Linked DNA regions of Homo sapiens: region 1 is linked to region 2. Evidence: promoter capture Hi-C in 16 types of primary human blood cells and fetal thymus (Javierre and others, 2016). All regions are on one chromosome and are shown on one strand. Each heading gives the region's core, a stretch centred on a gene start or on the middle of the fragment in contact. The rest is flanking DNA. Distances are from core to core; before and after follow the strand shown.

Region 1 (3,833 bases), core at 1,243-3,742, 130 kb after region 2:
TTAATATTAACATAAAACAAAACTTTAAATGACACAATAAAGCTATAAAAACAGAAACAGGTCCTCCTCCTCACAACACATACACATGAGGCAAAACAAAAATAGCATAGAGCTACATAACTTAGACTTAAAGGGGATTTGCTGTCCATGTAGCCCAACCACCTCACTTCACAGATAAGGAAGCTAGAGCCCAGAAAAGTCGCTCATGATGACCTAGGCTGGATTTGAGGCCCTATGTCTCATTCTATCCTCACTAGACCTGCCTTCTCTCAAAAAATAAGGGGGGGTCGGGGGGAAGCCACTTACATTCTTAGCTGACTCATCAAAGGATCTAAAAATCTTAGGAATCTTTTTTTTCATTTTCTCTCCAGGACTGAGAGCTAAACAAACTTTTGTTGCAATAGGTCTCCAGAAAACCCTAAATTTTACAAGTGATCACAGGACTGGAAACCTGTACAGAGCCACCATAATGTCACTGCAGAAGCACATAGCCGTTCATTTTCAAATCCTTTTCACATACATTACTCACCAAGAACCACAGCTCAGGAGAGAAATGGGTCTGAACTTTGCATCAGATCAATGGGACTGTGCCAGAATCGGAAGAGCCTCAGACATGAAGCAGACCAAACTGTAATATTCAAAAGAAAAATAAATTTCCTGCAAGCCGCAGGGAGCTTTCCCCAGAAGGTCTCAGAGTTGATGAGAAAGAAAAGGCTCTGTGGGTGCTTATGACTATGAATTCGGTTTTGCCATTCTTAGAAAGGTTGTTAGATATATATATATATATATAATCTATATCTATTTTTTTTTTAATTTAAGAGACAGGGTCTCTGTCACCCAGGCAGGCTGCAGTGCAGTGGCAGTCATAGCTCACTGCATCCTGGAACTCCCGGGGTCAAGGGATCCTCCCGCCTCAGCCTCCCGAAGTGCTGTAATTACAGCCATGAGCCACTGCGCCCAGCCTGTCAACTACTTTTAGGTTTAGTTTCCCCAACAAACCAAAGAGAAAATCTCACCCAGGAACCAAAAGGAGGAAAAGCTTTGGGAAAGGAGCATGCTGGGAAAGGGGCATGCATGCCATTTACTGAGCTGAGGGACCGCAGGAGGTCCTGCCTCCTTCCTGGAGCAGCTGCACCCTAGGGCTGCATGACACGTGCTCTCTCTACATAACCCGGGGATGCCAGTCCTCTCTGAGCTGACCATGAGGGTGTGTTGCCAAAGCTGAGTTTTCTGGCCTTTTCCTTTTATATTTAAAATCTTTCTAATATGGTAGGATTGCTAAGGGTGTCAGCAGGAAAAACAAGGGCTAGACCAAAGATAAAGCAGAATAAAAGATTAAACCAATAAGTCAAAAGACTTTTCTATATTAAGTAGAAAGTATGCCAAACAAGTTACTTTAATTCCCAGTGTGACAGAGTTGGACTGGCTTCCTTTGTTGGGCACATAGTAAGCAAAAGACAATACTGCTCCTATTTTTTATATACATGATTTATTATTGTACAGACTGGGTCTCACTATGTTGCCCAGGCTAGTCTCGAACTCCTGACCTCAAACGATCCTCCCGCCTCCACCTCTCACAGTGCTAGGATTACAGGTGTGAGCTACCATGCCAGGCCATACCACTGCTTCTAAACCACACAATCACACAACCACTTATGACAGTTACCAACACTAGGCCAAACACAGACATTAAACAAAATCAGAATTTTATAAAACTTCAGAGATTACCAAACTTTTGAACATTCAATTCACAGATTAATGATATCACAGATCTAAATGCTTAAGTTTCAAAAGGGAAAGATAAGAAACATCAAGTTCTAGAATACATAAATATATTTTGTTTCAATATAATTCTCTAAAGTGCTATTCAAACAAACAAGTACATTATAAAAGCCCAATATTATTGGTATTAAAATTACCAGTAAAAATACAAAATTAACAAATTTCTTTCTAGTTAGTGATACAGATTCGTCAAATTACTTTGAAACAGCTTCGGAATTGATAATTTTTAAAAACATCCCAAGACATTCTATCACTTCAATAGCCAAATAAACTTAAAGCAATTCATCTGTCACTGATGAAACACATATTGACTGATTCATGTTTATCCACAAAACATAAAAAAAAAAAATCTGCCTTCTCTTTAAAGATGATTGAAAATGGAAACCAAAATGACACAGTATGTAAAAGTGCTTGATAAACATTTTAATTCTAAGATATTGTAAGCCAGCTAACAGTAAAGTTTACACAAAGAGAACGGTGAAATACAAGTAATGCTCTAACGTGGTAGGGCAAGAGTAGGAAGGCGGTTAGCCGTAATTAATTTGGAGTCTAATCCTAGTTCAACCATTAAGTACTAATAACCTCATAACACAAGTCACTAATGTCCACTGAGCCCCTATTTTCTTATTTAGAAAGTGAAAGAACCGGACTACAGATATTTCCTAATTCAATGGGTACTACCTTTGAAGACATGGGAACAGACCTATGAGGTGTCAACACTATTACGTATTTCTTCACAGGTGTGATTAAATGAGAAGACTCATTTTTATCCCTCATTCATCAGATTAGTGAGCTGAAGCCTTGTCATCTACCAGCAACTCACAGCTAATATGAGTAAAAGCTGGAAGCACAAAGCGGGTCTTCAAACTCTGAATCCAGTGCGTTTCTCAATTAGGTATAACTGAGCGTCTGTGTACTATGAAAATGTGATGGTGCCAATTTTCTAATGTACACATTTGCTGTGGTAGAAAGAAAGGCAGTCATTCATTCAATACATTAACTGATAGGCACAGTTCTTTCTGGGTGCAAAGAGTAAAGCAGTGAATAAAAGAAAACACCGCCGGGTGCCACGGCTCACGCCTGTAATCCCAGCACTTTGGGAGGCCGAGGTGGGCGGATCACGAGGTGAGGAGTTCGAGACCAGCCTGGCCAACATGGTAAAACCCCGACTCTACTAAAAATACAAAAATTATCCGGGCGTGGTGGCGGGCGTTTGTAATCCCAGCTACTCGGGAGGCTGAGGCAGGAGAATCGCTTGAAACTGGAAGGCGGAGGTTGCAGTGGGCCGAGATCACGCCACTGCACTCTAGCCTGGGCTAAAGAGTGAAACTCAGTCTCGAAAAACAAAACAAAACACCACGACCTCATTGAGGTCACACTGTGGTTGGGAAAGACCACCAAAGTAAATGTGTAAAATATGGGGTACGTCAAAGTGGTAAGTGCTATGGAGAAAAACGAACAAGGATAACAAGCAAGGATTCGGCAATTTGCAATTTACTTCTTTTAAGCCAAACGGATGCCATTTAAAGAACTATAACAATAATGCATCTAAAGTAGTTTTCTTCAGCATTTTCCCAAACAGGGAAGACTTTGGTCTGCTGACTCCAATTTGGGATGGGTTGCTCAAACCTCGGAACTGCCAGCTAGAAGCTGTCTGTCACATTAGCAATCCAAATTCTGTACTAACGATGCTACCCCAGACCCTACTGCCGCCCCGCCCCCCCACCCCTCCACACTCCCCACCGCCAAAGAGCGCAAATGGATTCACAAAACAAATCCAAGAGAAACCAGAAGTTACAAGGGCACTTGAATTTCTTCTAAGTTTAGCACAGATATCTCCCCAATGCAAAGGTTAAAAGTGTAGCGTGCGTGGTGGTTTTGCTGGGACAAAGCGCTAAGAATACACATCATTTTGCTTTTTCTGACCTGTCAATTGTAGTGATATTCTCTACCACTAGCTTATATTTAACCAGCTTACTGGTCAGTTTCTCCAGTTTTTAGCATTCCCCCCTTTCCTTTTATTAAAACAGCAACCTAGTTTGCAAGAAGGT
Region 2 (3,495 bases), core at 922-3,421:
GAAAAAGGAGTCTTTGCAGATATTGCACCAACGTGCCCACAGGAAAGAGAAAATAGGTGCTCTAAGCATGTCGGACCCCAAATTAAGAATAAAAGTCCTCGAGGGCTGCAACGCTCTGGGGTGGGGGGTGGGGGACTGGTTCAAAGAGTAGGATTCTTCAGCTAACTTTTCCCCCCTCCCCATTCCTTGGGGCATGTGTCATGGCCTGTGACACACCGCCAAGGGAACATGGATGCCAGGGAAATGTCTACACACGCTACACGTTTGTGACATGCCATGTAAGCGACACCCTATTTCCTGGCTGGGTTTTCTTGGCACAGGTGTGGGCAGGCAGTGGATTCGGCCCCCTCCCACTGCGCTTAGTAAACAGGATCACGGTGGCCCCAGGGAGGAGTGTGCATTCTGGGGAAGACAAGCTACACCCCCAATGAGGATGGGACCCCCACGGCAAGCCTCAGGCCCAAGCCACAGCCGGTATTTGAAACTGTCCTTGTTTCAAAACACAAAGCATCCTGTTCAGGCTCCTACCCGCCACCCCCACTCTCCCCTCGACCCCACCACAGCTGTCTTTCTCCACGTACGAAGAAGGCCACCATTTGCAGATCTGATTTCAGAAACAGATCAATGGTTTTTCCTCTCCGACTCATCCAGCTGACCCAGTCCTACCCATGTATTTAAAAACAATAACAAAATTAAACCTCCAGCAACAAAACACACACGTATACACACACTCTACAGACAATGCCGGACCAGGGCTCCACCAAGCAGCTTCTAGGCTAGAACTCGACCACCGCTGGGTCCTGAGATATTCCAGGACCACTGCCCCCTCCCCCTCCACTTCCAACCTCTCAATGTGCGAATGAGATTTTCAGAAAGGGAAGCACCCCGTTCTGCCTGCCAGCCCTGGCAGGAAAGAGAATAAAGGACGGGTAAACCAAACAGAGAAACTGGCTTCTGGAAATTCTTTGGGTTTGGGGGTTTGGAGGTTTTGTTGTGTTGTTTGTTTTTTTTTTTAAATCTGAGGGGTGGTATTTTGTTTTCCCCTCCCCCACCCCTCAGATCCAGATGGGCCAGGGGCTTCCAGAGAGAACCCCCACCACCATCAGGGCCCAGCGTCGGGTCCATCCTCGAGTCCCAGCCACCAGAAACACAAGAGCTGGGGGCAGAAGGTCCCCAGGCACCCAGCCTGGCGGTGGGCCGAGTCTCCAGCATTTTAAGGGTCTCTCCTGAGCCCGGTCGGCTGGTTTGGGCTTCAGACTCCAAAATCGAGCCCCGCGAGCAGGCCAGGAGCGAGGCGCCCTGGTTCTCCCCGTTCCCCCGGCACCCCCCACCGCCCCCCAGGCCCTGGGCTCCAGGTGCAGCGCCAGGGGGCAGCCAGGGAGGGCGCATCTCGGGCCCCGAGGAGAGGCGGGGGTGCAGCCGCGCAGAGCCACTCACCGTGGCGGACGCCAGGCTGTTGTCGGCCAGCGTTAGGTGGTGCGGCTCCCAGCGCCTCAGGAATTTCGAGGTGAGGATCTTGCTGAGAAAGGTCCGCGGGTGCCGGATGACACAGACCTGAATGTCGCCCTCCTGCAGCAGTTTGTACCTCATCCCGTTGCAAAGCAGAAGAGCCCGGCGGCAGGGCACGGCGCCCATCTTCGTGCCTTCGGGGGCCGACACGTCGCCCCCCAGCAGCGGCTTGGTCTCCTCGATCTGCCGGGGGTCGCCGCCGCCGCCCGAGCTGCTGGTCACATCCATGGCCGCGCCGGGGGAGGGGGCTGGGGGCGGGGAGAGGGGGCTGTCCTGGGCTGCTGGGGCGGCGGGGCCCCCGGATCCGGCGGCCCGCACCCCCCCACCCCCCGGGAAGGTGGGGGGGTGTGGGGCTGGGGGCGCCCGCAGGGGAGGGGGCGCTGCCCGCGGGGGGCGGCGCGTGCGGCGGGCTGGGCCGGCCTCGGCGCTTCCTGCGGGGCTCCGGGCTTCCTCCTAGCTCGTCGGGTGCATGCTCGCGGCGGCTGACCGGGCTCGGCGGGCGACGGGGAGGGGCGGGGGAGGCCGAGGGCGGGCCGGGGCCAGGCGCGGAGGGCGGGCGCCGGGGTGGGGGCGGCGGGGTGGGGGCGGGCGTGTCTCGGGGCCCCGCGCCGCCGCGCGCGTGTGTACAGAGCGTGTGTCCGCGCGGCCGTCCGGGCGAGAGTGGCCGCGGGCGGGGCGGGCCGCGCGCCGGGCTCCCGGAGCCCGGGGCGCCCGCGCGATTGGTCCCCGCAGGGTCATGTGCCCGCCCCTCTGACGTCAATGGCGGCAACGGCGGCGGCCGCGGCGGCTTCGGCCTCTCGCGGGCGGAGTCCGCGGTCCGGGCGGGGTCGCGGCCCACGACGGGGAGGCGCGGCCCGACGGGAGGGGCAGCCCCTGGGGAGGGGGCTGGGGCGGGCGAGCCCCGCGGGGTCCCGGCCCGCCCCGCCTGGAATGTGGGGAGGGGGCGGGGCGCGGGGGCGGGGCGCGTGACGTCACGCCAGCCGCGCCCCCGCGGGTGCCCGGGCGGGAGCCCAGCCAGGCTGCCGGAGCCTGGGGGCCCGCGCCTCACCCACCCCCGCCGCCCCCGGGCCGGACTCGGACGGGTAAAGAAGGATACCCGAGGGCCGGGGGCTGGGTGGAAGGACGGGGACTGGAACCCTCGACCCCTGACGCCCCCTCCGCTGTCCAGGCTGTCCAGCGGGCTGGCCAGATGGGGCCGTGGGACGGGGACGCCTTCCCGACTGAAAGTGTCCCCGCGGTGATCCGGAGGATGAGCCCACCCTGCCCTGTCTCCCACTGCGGGACCCAGCCGGCCTCGAACTCCTGGCCTTTGACGTCTGCTGGCTTTGGCCTTGGGGGTCCTCAAACCTTCTGGAGAGAGGGGACGGTCCGCCCATCCCCCTTCTTTCTTCTGCCCAGGGAGACAGAGCCTCTTCTAGGAACCCACTTAAAGCACCCCCCAACCTACACAGCCACCCCTCTTGTGCGCACCCCAGCAGCTCCCCCTACTTCACCTTCCCTGGGACCCCACCTGGTCATTTTATCTGAGTTCACAGGCCCAGCACCAGCCCACGAGAGAACCATATTCGATTCTCTTGTGACCCAGGGTATCAGGAACTGCAGCCTGGATGCAAAAAGCTCCCTTTCTGCCATCACAAGCAGCCGGCACCTAAGGCCACCTAGCAAATGCTCAGCTCCTCAGCCAGGTTTTCTTATCTCCACGTGCTCCTGCAGCTAATAACGTTAAAACCCTAGATTTTTGCCTTTTTAAGTGAAGGCGCCTCTGTAGTGAACACATGAATGTGTGCAGCGTGTGTTGAACTGCGTCGTGAACACTGCGGAATATCCACAGCATCTGTGCCGTTGGTGGAAATTATTCACCCCCCCTCTCCCAAGAACAGGCAGCATGAAGGTGCTCCCCAGAGGACCCTCTCCCCGAGCCTGGCCAGGGTTTCAGGCAGGGGATGAAAGGCAGGTCCCAGGCTGCATCCCTCACCAAGGAAAGAA

What was found. Contacts are between HindIII fragments. The CHiCAGO score rates a contact against its expected background, and 5 or more counts as called.
Region 1: a contact is called between a fragment that was not itself captured here and the fragment with the promoter of CMIP in region 2, in 2 of 17 cell types (neutrophils and fetal thymus). The highest score is 6.4, in neutrophils.

Annotation. Positions count from the first base shown.
Region 1 is chr16:81,316,164-81,319,996 of GRCh38, reverse strand. The region is part of intron 1 of GAN (gigaxonin); the gene reads right to left. Among named protein-coding and RNA genes, the nearest start is that of GAN, 3.1 kb to the right of the region's middle. The HindIII fragment of the contact is 2,901 bases long and covers 1,042-3,833 here.
Region 2 is chr16:81,443,484-81,446,978 of GRCh38, reverse strand. CMIP (c-Maf inducing protein) reads right to left here and starts at 2,171. Exons shown (of 21, transcript NM_198390.3): 1 at 1,438-2,171. The coding sequence starts at 1,737. RefSeq lists enhancers at 1-633, 2,798-3,330 and silencers at 1,179-1,478, 1,909-1,958, 2,029-2,378, 2,489-2,588. The HindIII fragment of the contact is 9,361 bases long and covers 1-3,495 here.